2 separate regions of the Homo sapiens genome follow, and region 2 is linked to region 1. Evidence: promoter capture Hi-C in 16 types of primary human blood cells and fetal thymus (Javierre and others, 2016). All regions are on one chromosome and are shown on one strand. Each heading gives the region's core, a stretch centred on a gene start or on the middle of the fragment in contact. The rest is flanking DNA. Distances are from core to core; before and after follow the strand shown.

Region 1 (5,330 bases), core at 1,120-3,619:
GAGTAACCTGCTCTAGGCCTCACTCCCAAACTTCAGTTCCTGACAGTCCTCCTGCTGGCAGGGCTTGGGGCTTGTGAGTGTTCTTGAAATCAAAGCGATGGTGGTAGGAGCGGGGATGGGGCGCATACAGAACCCCGCGGGTTTGATTTCACGGTGGGAGAGGGAGGCAAAGTTGCCGCAGGACATGGGGGAGAAGTTGGGGAGGATGGGGTGGGAGGTCGCCTTGGGCGTCCTTTCGGGAACGGGGAGGTCAAAGCTAAAGCTGTGCCCTATGGCCCCGGAGCTGCAGGGCGAGGCCCAAGCGCTGGCCAGTGGCCGGCGCGAACGCTGGAGCCACAGGAGTTCCGGCCCGAGACACCGGAGCCAGCAGCAGGGCCGCGAACGCGATGCCGGGGAGGTCAGTTGTCTGCGGCTGGCGACCGTGAGGAAGCGGCTCCGCTCCAGCACGTGTCTCGGCTCGGATCCCGCCCCGGGCGTCTCCCGGCTACCCGGAGCCCGCGGAGCAGCCCCGCCGGTGGCGAGGGCGGGGGAGGTCACCCGGAGCAGGGCCCCGAAACTCCGCGGGAAGGGGCCGCGGTCTAGGATCCCAGGCCTCAGGGTGGGATGTGGAACACGCGCACGCACACACATCCGACACACCGTCCACACTCCGACGAGCACACGGACACACAAACACAGGCTCCGTATACATACATTCAGCTGCGCGCACACACACACGCGCACGCACACCAAAGACACCAGACTCCGAAACACACCCGGAGAACGCGACCACACAGCAGACAAGCGCGGAGCCACACGCTCACACTCACGCTCACACTCAAGCACACACCTGGCGGTCCCGGCCGGCCGGGAGGCCGCACAAAGTTGCAGGCTCCACCAAGGGAGTGTCCCGGGAGGCCCGGGCGTCCCCCGCGCGTCCTGCGCGCCAAGGGAGGGGGCGCCGTCCCCCGGCGGCGAGCCAGGCCCTGCCCGCGCCCGGACGTCGCAGCCCAGCCCGGGGACAGCCCCCGCCCGGCCGCCCGGGGCGCAGCCGCGGCCCGGCCACCGCAGGAGCGCCCGCCGGTCCGGCCCTCCCCTGCCCGCCCGCCGGCCCCTCGCTGGGGCCCGCTGGCCCGGGCGCCCCGCAGCCCCGGCGCCGCCTCGGATCAGCCGCCCGCCAGCGCCGCGCGGAACTTGCGAAACAACAAACAGTCCGACATGCCCGAGGCGGCGGCCGCGGGGCCCGGTCCTCCCCTGAGCCTCGGGCCCTGCCCGACCCGGGCAGCCCAGGGGGCGCCGCCGCGACAACTTGTTCCGGCCCAGCGCGCCACACACGCGCACACGCACACGCGCGCACACACGTCCTGCCACCGCCCCCTCGGGCGGCCCCGGGACCAGGGCACACTCGCAGCCGCGGCCCAGGCGCGCTCCACACTCGCAACATTCCTGGACGCGCAGCCAGCACACACGGACACATTCGCACACACTCACATCCGTTCCAGACTCGCTCCCACACACGCATTCCCGGCACACTTGGCATTCACTCGGACCCACGCGGCCCCCGGCAGCACACACCACATACCCTAGACACTCCCCACACGTACACAGCGCACGGACACACACGTTCCGGACCCGTTCCCACGCCTTCACACATGTACACGGATCTCAAAAGCACACACGCCACACACGCGTTCCCGGATCCACACTCAGGCGGGATCCAGAGAGCACCCTTGGCCACAGGCATAACACAAACACACAACCCACTCGCAGACACAAAACAAACAGCACTCCCGGCCAGGCATACAAAATGCAAACAAATGCAACACATTAGCAGATACAACTCCCGCAACACAACCAAACTCAGATGCACACACAACCCACTTGGCCACACAAACACTACACACTGGCAGACCCACAAGACACTCAGCGCACACCCAATGCCTCGATGCACACAACATTCACCCCCAACATACTCGCCGACACACATCACCTTTTCTTGCGCACAGAACTCACGGACACACAACATTCGCAGTCACGCAACACCCCGGGCACACAATCGCCCATCCTACGCTCAGACACACACAGGGAGCACGCTCGTAACGCCCGGTCACTCAACACTCACACTTTCTTCCGAGCTACGCCACGGGCCCCGAGGCTCGGCGGGGCAGGCTCGGTCCGGCCGCCGCGCGCTTACCTGCCGGAGTCTCGGTCTCCGGCGCGCAGAGCTGGAAGGTGAGTGCCAGCACGAGCGCCTGGGCACGGGCCATGGTTGGAGCGTCGCCGCCCGTCCCGGGGCCCGGCGCGGGGGACGCCGCCCCCGGAGCCCGAGCCCAGCCCGAGGCGAGCCGGAGCCCGAGCCGGAGCGGAGCGGCGCGGCGCGGAGCGGGACTGGCGCCGAGTCCAGAGCGCGAGCCGGAGCAAGCGGGGCGCTGACGTCAGGCCCGGCCGCGGGTTCGGCGGTCTCGCGGCGCTCCCTGCTGGCCACGGCGGGTGCTGCAGCGGGTCCGGCCGCCCGCTAGCCCTGGCGCGCCCCTCCCCCGCTCCCGCATCCTCCCCGCCATGAGGCCCCGCGGCTGGGTCTGGACGCCCACGGACGTCTCCACGGACCGGGCACCAACACTGCCAGGCGAGCACGCTCATGGCCCACGCCTAGCTCCCGTACAGCGCTCTCAGGGACGGTGACCCAGGGACACCCGGCCTCTGTCCCATCCGATGCCTGAATCCCTTGTACCTTGGCGCCTTCAAATGCGTGTTCTACATACCTCCAGGAACAGGGCGCTCATCACCTGGCCAAGAGCGGTTGTTGGGGCTTTGGAAACGCCGGCTTTTAGAAAGTTTTTCATTTCATGACGTGCAAGTCTACCTCCCTCACTAGCCCTCACTGGTCCTACTCTACCTTCTGGCTACACAGGTTAAATGTATTTGGGCCTCTACCCAGAACGAGCCCTCGCACTATGATCTGCAAACTCGTTGCTCATTACTATGTAAGACCAGGTACCTTCTATGTGTTTAACCCACATGGACTCATTTAATCATCATATATTAGGTATGCAATAATTATACTGCATAAATACTGTTATGCAACAGTATTTGACAGCACCGAGATTTGAATCAAAGTTGTTTGGTTTGAATTGAATAGGGGCTGAGACCTTCCTCCCATCTGGACACCTATTCATTCAACAAATATTTATTGGGGTCTATTCATTTATTCAACAATTACTATAGGCCAGGGTAGAGATATAAAACAGACAAAAATTCCCTACTCTCATGGACCTTACATTCCAGTGGGAAGACAAGAACAGTAAACAACCAAAAAAACAAAAACAAAAAAGCAAACCCTCTGGTGTACGTCCTTTATCACTGTCTCATACACCAGGAAATTTGGGGGTGGTGGGGGGACAGGGAAGGGAAGGGGAATTGTTGCAATTTCAAATAGAGTGCGGGCTATATGATGAGTTCATTATCTGTCTCCACCTCTAGAAATGAGCTCCCTTGGGAAAAGACTCATCTTGTATTTCCGTGCCCAGTATATGGCATGTTTTTATTATTTTATTTTATTTTATTTTATTTCAAGATGGAGTTTCACTCTTGTTGCCCAGGCTGGAGTGCAATGGCGCAGTCTTGGCTCATTGCAACCTCTGCCTCCCAGGCTCCAACAATTCTCCTGGCTCAGCCTCCCAAGTAACTGGGATTACAGGTGCCCACCACCACGCCCGGCTAATTTTCGTATTTTTAGTAGAGACAGGGTTTCACCATGTTGGCCAGGCTGGTCTGGAACTCCTGACCTCAGGTGATCCACCTGCCTCAGTCTCCCAATGTGCAGGGATTACAGGCGTGAGCCACCGCGCCCGGCCTCTGGCACGTAATTGATGCTCAATAAATACTGACTGGATGGAATGAATGAAAGGGAAATGGTCCTAGCCTTCATGAATCTTACATTCTATTAGGAGAGCCCAACAGCAAACATGTACATAAATATATCATTACCATCTAAGATATGCAAGCTAAAGGAAACGAGGGAGTATAATGATAAAGAACATAGGGAAGGGGCATCTCCTTTAGATAAGTGGTCCAAGAGGGCTTTGCTATAGAAGTGACATGGTGACATTTGAACTGAGACCTGAAGTATGAGAAGGAGCCAACCTCATGCAAATCAGTGGAGAGGAACATTGCAGTCAGAGGGGACAGCCTGTGCAAAGGCAGGAGCTGGTGGGTACAAGCAGCTGCAAGGAAGCCGGGCAGCTGGCATGGAGTGAGTCAGGGGCAGAAGGGAGCCAGGTGCAGCTAGACAAGTCAGCAGGGTCTGTAGGTCAGGCAAGAAACTATGAGCAAGGAAGGGGCTTGAGGTTCAACCCTAAGAGTAATTAATGGGAGGCCACTGAAGTGGAGTAATTAAGCAGAGGAGTAATAAGGAGTAATAAGTTCTGATCTCTGGGTTTTTTTTTTTTTGTTTTTTTTTTTTTACAGCTCCAGCTATAAAGACTGCTGAAGTAGGGAAAGCCATGGGCAGATGGGTCTGACCACTGGGCAGTGACACTGAACAAAGCGTAGGAGTTCAAGGTATATGTAGGCCCTCCCTGTGCCCTGCCCCTCCTAGCTGGCTTCATGCTGAGATGGACACACCTTGAAGCTGCCCTGGGGCTGGAGGAGGTATCGCTGGGTTGAGAGTTCCTGGGCTCTTGGTCTCCTCTCTTGTGAGAGCTGATGAGCTCCACACTGAGTTAGGAAAGGGACCAAAAGACACAGCAGGCAAGAATTAGACACAGATAATTAAATAGGGAGAGGGAGGCAGAAGCAAGAAGAAACCAAGGGGAAACCTTAGGGAAGAAACTAAGATACAGAGACGCTGGAGCAGAGAGGAGCCAGAGAGGCCCACCCAGAAAAGGAAACTCAAGGAGAGAAAACCAGTGAACAGAAGAAACAACCAAGGGTGCTGTTTGCAGAGGGCTCTTGAGAGAGCCTCAAAATAGGAGTTTTACCAGTGATCCCATTTTACGGGTGTGGAAACTGAGGTTCAGAGAGCATATGACACTTGCCTAAGGTGACACAGCTAGTAAATAGACGGCGGGCCCTAGATTTGAACCCAGATCTGACTGATTCCACATCCCTTTGCCCTTTGTGCAGGGGAAGATGGCAGAGACTATAATGGAGGGAGAAAGAGAACACAAGCAACAGGTAGACAGATGAGAAGAGGACTTTCTGCTTTACTTTTAAAAGACCACAAACTTCAGCCGGGCACAGTGGTTCACACCTGTAATCCCAGCATTTTGGGAGGCAGAGGCGAGGTCAGGAGTTTGAGACCAGCCTGACTAACATGGTGAAACCCTGTCTCTACTAAAAAAAAAAAAAAT
Region 2 (5,330 bases), core at 1,082-3,581, 470 kb before region 1:
GGCCCTCCCCCAATTCCTAGGTTTCCTAGGAGCTCCAATATCCTGCTTTCCACAGACAAAAGCATCCATTAATCCCCCTGAGGTCAGAGGGGCTGTGCACTTTGCAAAGGAAGCCTGCAGAAAAAGGCATCATTCAACCTAAAGCCTCAGTGTAGGTGGATGATCCCTGGGAAGCCATGTAAACACACAGCTGAAGAAGATCATTTCAGGCAGTAAGAAATACCAGGAGAAAAACCCAACAGGGAGAGGGGTCAGAGCTCAGGGGTCACCTGGGGCATGACAGATCATGGGATCTGTCGATGGTGGGAGCTCAGGGGCCAACCCGGGGCATGACAGATCAATGGATTTGAGCAGAGGGAGTTTAGAGTGCCCCTACCCCAGAACGACAGCACCTGAAAGCTGCCCACTTTGCTTGGGTGCTCTCCTTCCTTCCGGGTGCTTGGCATCTCTGAGGGAAGGAACCATCGCCCAGACCGTTGCCCGGGTGAGGCTGCACACACAGATCTGCACTAATGGTCGGATGCAACCTGCAGCAATGACTGAATATCCAGCACCAATAATTCCCCAGCTTTGCCACTAGGGGCTCCAGGAAGGAGCAGCAGCAAGGAAGCTGGACATCTGCAAGGCTCCCATCACTTCCCAAAGGGCACTTTATGGTTGGGCAGAAGAATGGGCATCTTTCTCCCAAATGGCCTTGCAACTGCTAGGGCATACTTGGGCTCTTTCAGTTAAAACACTGGTCTGCGGAGAGAGATATCAATAAGTAGAAATTAGCTTATTTCTGGAAATTGAGTGAGAAGGGAGTCTGGGCTGGTTTTGTGTTTTAAACTATTTCTCTTTTCATCCTACCTCTCTGCCTCTGATGCCAACGCCCTGAGGGCAGAAGTGGAGTTGACAGGACCAGAAGTCTCGAGCCAGGCCCCGGCAGTCAGCAGAGAGACCCAACCAGGCCTGGGGCCTCTGCAATGGCCGAGGACATCAAGCCTAGCCTCAGTGAGGACACCAACAGAGCTGGGCTCTAATGGTGGGAAAGAAGGTGCAGGATGGAGAGAGGCTCAAGAGGGGGAAGAACAACCTATGTTCCAGCCCCTCTTTCCCTGCCCCACACCTCTTTATGCTGCAGGTGCAATCGCTTGTCCCTGCTCCTCAGGCGTGCTGGGCCCCTCCAGACCATGCTCCTTTGCACATGCTGTTCCTCTGCCACGAATGTCCTTCCCAGCCACATACCTCCTCCTCCATGCAGTCTTCTCAAGCTGCTCTCCTCCAACCCCAACTCCACCCCACGCACCCACCTCAAGCTTTATTCTTCTAAGGCCTCTTCCAGCTCCAGGTCTTCATACTCTTAGAAGCTCCTTTCTCCATCAGATCAAACATATCAAGATTGCACATTAAATCAGTGTATGTATATAACTACATAAGAGCCAAGGAGAGCACAAAGTGACAGTTGATGATGTTACATTTTGCAGAGATTTAATTAAACATGTCAATTTGAAGGTTGTATCTTTCTGTTTGTATTTGAATCTCATAACTTTTTTCAGGCCTTAAACATGTTGATAGGGCCGAATGAGCTTTAGTGCCTCTGTAGATGGGGATTCAGATGAGCTCAGCATCCTGGGGTCTTAGAGGTGGCAGAGAGCCCTGAAGTCATCTTTCTACTCTAGATTTTTCAGGGCAAGATGGAGAGTCAGGGACAGAGAGAGGCGAATGTGTCTGAGGTCACAGAGAAGATCATGGTAGGTCCAAGAGAAGGAATTGGGAACACCTGATCCAAGTCCAAGGCCACATCTCCCACAGTTTACTGTGTGGACTGGGGCCAAGGACTTTTGGCCTGGCCTACCCTCTAAAGTGGACCCGAGAATCAAACCAAATCCAAATATTGCAGTAGCTGCTGTGTTCTGGGTGGTCCCCATGCATGAGCCCTGATGCTAAGCAGTGTGTGTGTCTTTCCCCATTTCTCCCTCTCAACTTTCAGTGAGGCAGGTGCCATTATTGTCTGTCTCTCCTTGCAGAGAAGACCACTCGGTGAGGCTCAGAGAAGAGAAAAGACCAGCCAAAAAAAAAACCCTGCCGGGCACATGGCAGAGCTAGGAGTCCATCCCAGACAGTGTAGGGCTAGAGCCTCCAAGCCACCCCTGTTCTATGAGCCCCAGGCAGAGAGAAAAGGAGGGAAGGTGGTGGGAGGGGAGAGGAGAGAGGCTCCTTCCCTTGGATGTCTGGGGGAGATCCAGGCCATGGTCTGGCACATGCCGCAGCACATCCTGTGGGTTCATGTGTTCAGATGGCCTGACCCTCTACAGGGAGCATCATGGCATGGGCTTGAACATGCCAGATACGCCTTAGCCCTGAGCAAGCCCTCTGTCCCCAGGGTCCCAGGGAAGGCAAACTGCTCCACAGACCTAGCTGAGTGCAGCAAAAACAGGACAGCAGAAGGGATAACACCATCAGATGGACCTGGGCTGAATCCCAGCGCCACCATGTCCTGACGGCTGAAACGTGGGCAAAGCTCTGCCTTCCCTGAGCCCCAGCTTCTGAATCTGCAAAACGGACACAGTGTCTAACCACCACCTTGTAGTATTGTTGGGGACTTGAAGTAAAATGAGATAGAGGAGGAAACTGGTGCTCAGAGATGTTAAGACAGGTGCCCGGGGCTCACACAACTGGTAAGCTGTGAAGCCGGAATGCAGGCTTTACTGTCCTCTGTTCTAGTCTTCGCTCCCCAACTTACAAGCCATAGGACCAGTGAATTTACCTTCTTTTTTTGAGATGGAATCTCGCTCTGTCGCCCAGGCTGGAGTGCGGTGGCGCGATCTCGGCTCACTGCAACTTCTGCCTCCCAGGTTCAAGCAATTCTCCTGCCTCAGCCTCCTGAGTAGCTGGGATTACAGGCATGCACCACCATGCCCAGCTAATTTTGTATTTTTTAGTAGAGATGAGGTTTCACTACATTGGCCAGGCTGGTCTCGAACTCCTCACCTCGTGATCCGCCCACCTCAGCCTCCCAAAGTGCTGGGATTACAGGTGTGAGCCACTGCGCCCAACTTGATTTTACCTTCTAAGCCTCAGTTTTCTCATCTGTGAAATGTAGATAATGATACTGTCTTGCAGGTTTTCCTTTGGTATTTGCAATCTTGTGTTTAAATTGTCTGGTACCCAGTAACATCCATGACCTGGTAGTTAAAATGATGGTGATGATGGTGATGATAATAAACAGGTTGGATTGAGCAGAATTAATAGGGAGAAGAGAGTTGATTAAGGGAATTCCTGTCCCCACCAGGAGAAGGAATAGGCTGATTATCTACTGATGCTCCCACTGCCCATCCCTCTTCTTCCTCCTACCCCTCACCACCAGCTCCAGGAAGCTTATGAGGGACACTTGTGGGGAGGGCAGCTACTTCCCCTGTGAACTTTGGCTGCTATTCTTCCTCACAAAGAAGATTCATCAGTCATTACAGGCATGAGAAGTATGACTGGTTCTGCTCTCCATGGAAGTGGGGGCTGGAGAGATGAGAACAGGGAGGGTGAGGTAGGTATGGGCAGTTGGATGGCAGGTGGGGCTTGGCTTGTTAGTGGGTGACCCTGCAGCAGTCCTGCTGTGAGCACAGGCTCTTTCCCAATCTAATTAGCATTGCTGAGAATTCAACTACACAGCCCTGAAGTGAGTTTGCTTCCCCAAGAGCATTCCAGAACGAATACTGATTAAATATGAAACAGTTCCTCCCTTCAGGGCTAAGTCTAGAAGGCACAAATCAGAAATGGGAGCTGTAATTATTAGCTCTGATTTTAAGTAATAGAATAGAATAGAATACAATAGAATAGAATAGAATAGAATAGAATAGAATAGAATAGAATAGAATAGAATAGGAGGATAGAATCCAATCTTCCCATCCCACAAGTAAAAACAACCAACAATATTCCGAGTTATTTCTGCTCTATTTAAAGGAGCATGAGCTTTTTTATTCTTTGCTCCTTCCCATTGTTATCTTTCTGCTTTTTCATCCGGGTGATTTGCTGTGTACCTACTATGTGCCCGGCATATATGGATGCAAGGGTAAGAAATAAACAAGTCAGACTAGGTGCCCGCTCTTCTGGGGCTCACAGTCAAGAGGGGGATGTGACCTTTTAAAAAAAAAGTCCCAACAGATTAGTGCAACTCACCTGAGGATGGGCCAAGTATGCCATGCACAGGAGGATGCTGAGAGGGACTAACTCAACTACGGGATGGTTGAGTGTCTTAGGAGCTGATATTTAAATTGAGGACTGAATGGCTTTTGCACTTGTTCCCTCTGCCTGGAATGCTCCTCCTCAGACATCCACAGGGCTCCCCACTTAACCTCCTTTAAGTCTGCAAAAACATTTGTGTTAACCGCAACTCCCCACATTCCTGGGCCCCTTCCCTGCTTTATTTTTCTCCATTGCACTTGTCCTTGTGTTACCAATACATTTAATCTAGATGTTTATTGCCCATCTCTGCCTATTAGAAGATAAGTTTTCTGAGGCCAGAAATTGTTGTTTCTCTCTGTTCTATACCCAGTACCTGGCACAGAGCAGGGACTCATTCAATATATGTTGAATGACTGAATGACATCATTAGTCATGCTTTGCTTTGTTCTGTTTCTTAAGAGACAAGGTCTCACTTTGTAGCCCAGGCAGGAGTCATGCTATGGAGCACAGACCTTATCCTTAGAGCAAAGAGGGGCGATCCCAGGATCTTAAGGAGGTATGTGGCCAAGCTGGTTTAGAAAGATCTTGCTGCATGAATTGCAGGAGACGAGAGGCTAGGAGGTCCCACAGGAGTGTGCTGAAGGAGGTGTGGACCAGTGTTGTGATGGGGGAGATGCCTGGAAGGGAATGGAAGGAGGAATAAAAAAAAAAGATGATACCCTGGGGGGTCTTAGCACCCAAAGGGCGCCGTGGGTTTTGAGAATGTGGTTCAGGGGATCCAGAGTTAAAGCCCAAGTTCTCGACATTGGTGAGCAGCCAGGAAGGGAGGTGGCAGAGTGGCCGCCAGGGCACAGAGGGGTTCAGATGTAGTCAGACTGCAACGGAGCAGCCTGTGGCCATCCAGACCCCACCACAGAGCCCGGAGATAACCAACAGGATGAGGACTGAGCCAGAAACGGGGAGGCAGGAGATGAATGATGTATTAGGCCTCACAGGAGGCACACATATCTTCCTCCCTGTGCGAAAGCTTCCCTGATTTTCATCAAAAACAAGCAGGGGAGAGGAGGATGCGTGGATTTGTAATGAGCCCTGACACATCACCTGGTTACAGATCTCACAGCCCGGCTGATCCTCCCAGACCCAGCTACAACGACCCGGGCCCCGCCATG

What was found. The method cuts DNA at HindIII sites, captures the fragments that hold promoters and counts their contacts. A CHiCAGO score of 5 or more calls a contact.
Region 2: a contact is called between a fragment that was not itself captured here and the fragment with the promoter of PTPRU in region 1, in 1 of 17 cell types (endothelial precursors). The highest score is 9.7, in endothelial precursors.

What each region holds. Positions count from the first base shown.
Region 1 is chr1:29,233,561-29,238,890 of GRCh38, reverse strand. It overlaps PTPRU (protein tyrosine phosphatase receptor type U), which reads right to left and starts at 2,369. Exons shown (of 30, transcript NM_133178.4): 1 at 2,174-2,369. The coding sequence starts at 2,246. RefSeq lists a silencer at 2,247-2,566. The HindIII fragment of the contact is 8,758 bases long and covers 1-5,330 here.
Region 2 is chr1:29,698,977-29,704,306 of GRCh38, reverse strand. No RefSeq gene overlaps it. Among named protein-coding and RNA genes, the nearest start is that of LINC01648, 340 kb to the left of the region's middle. The HindIII fragment of the contact is 2,061 bases long and covers 1,301-3,361 here.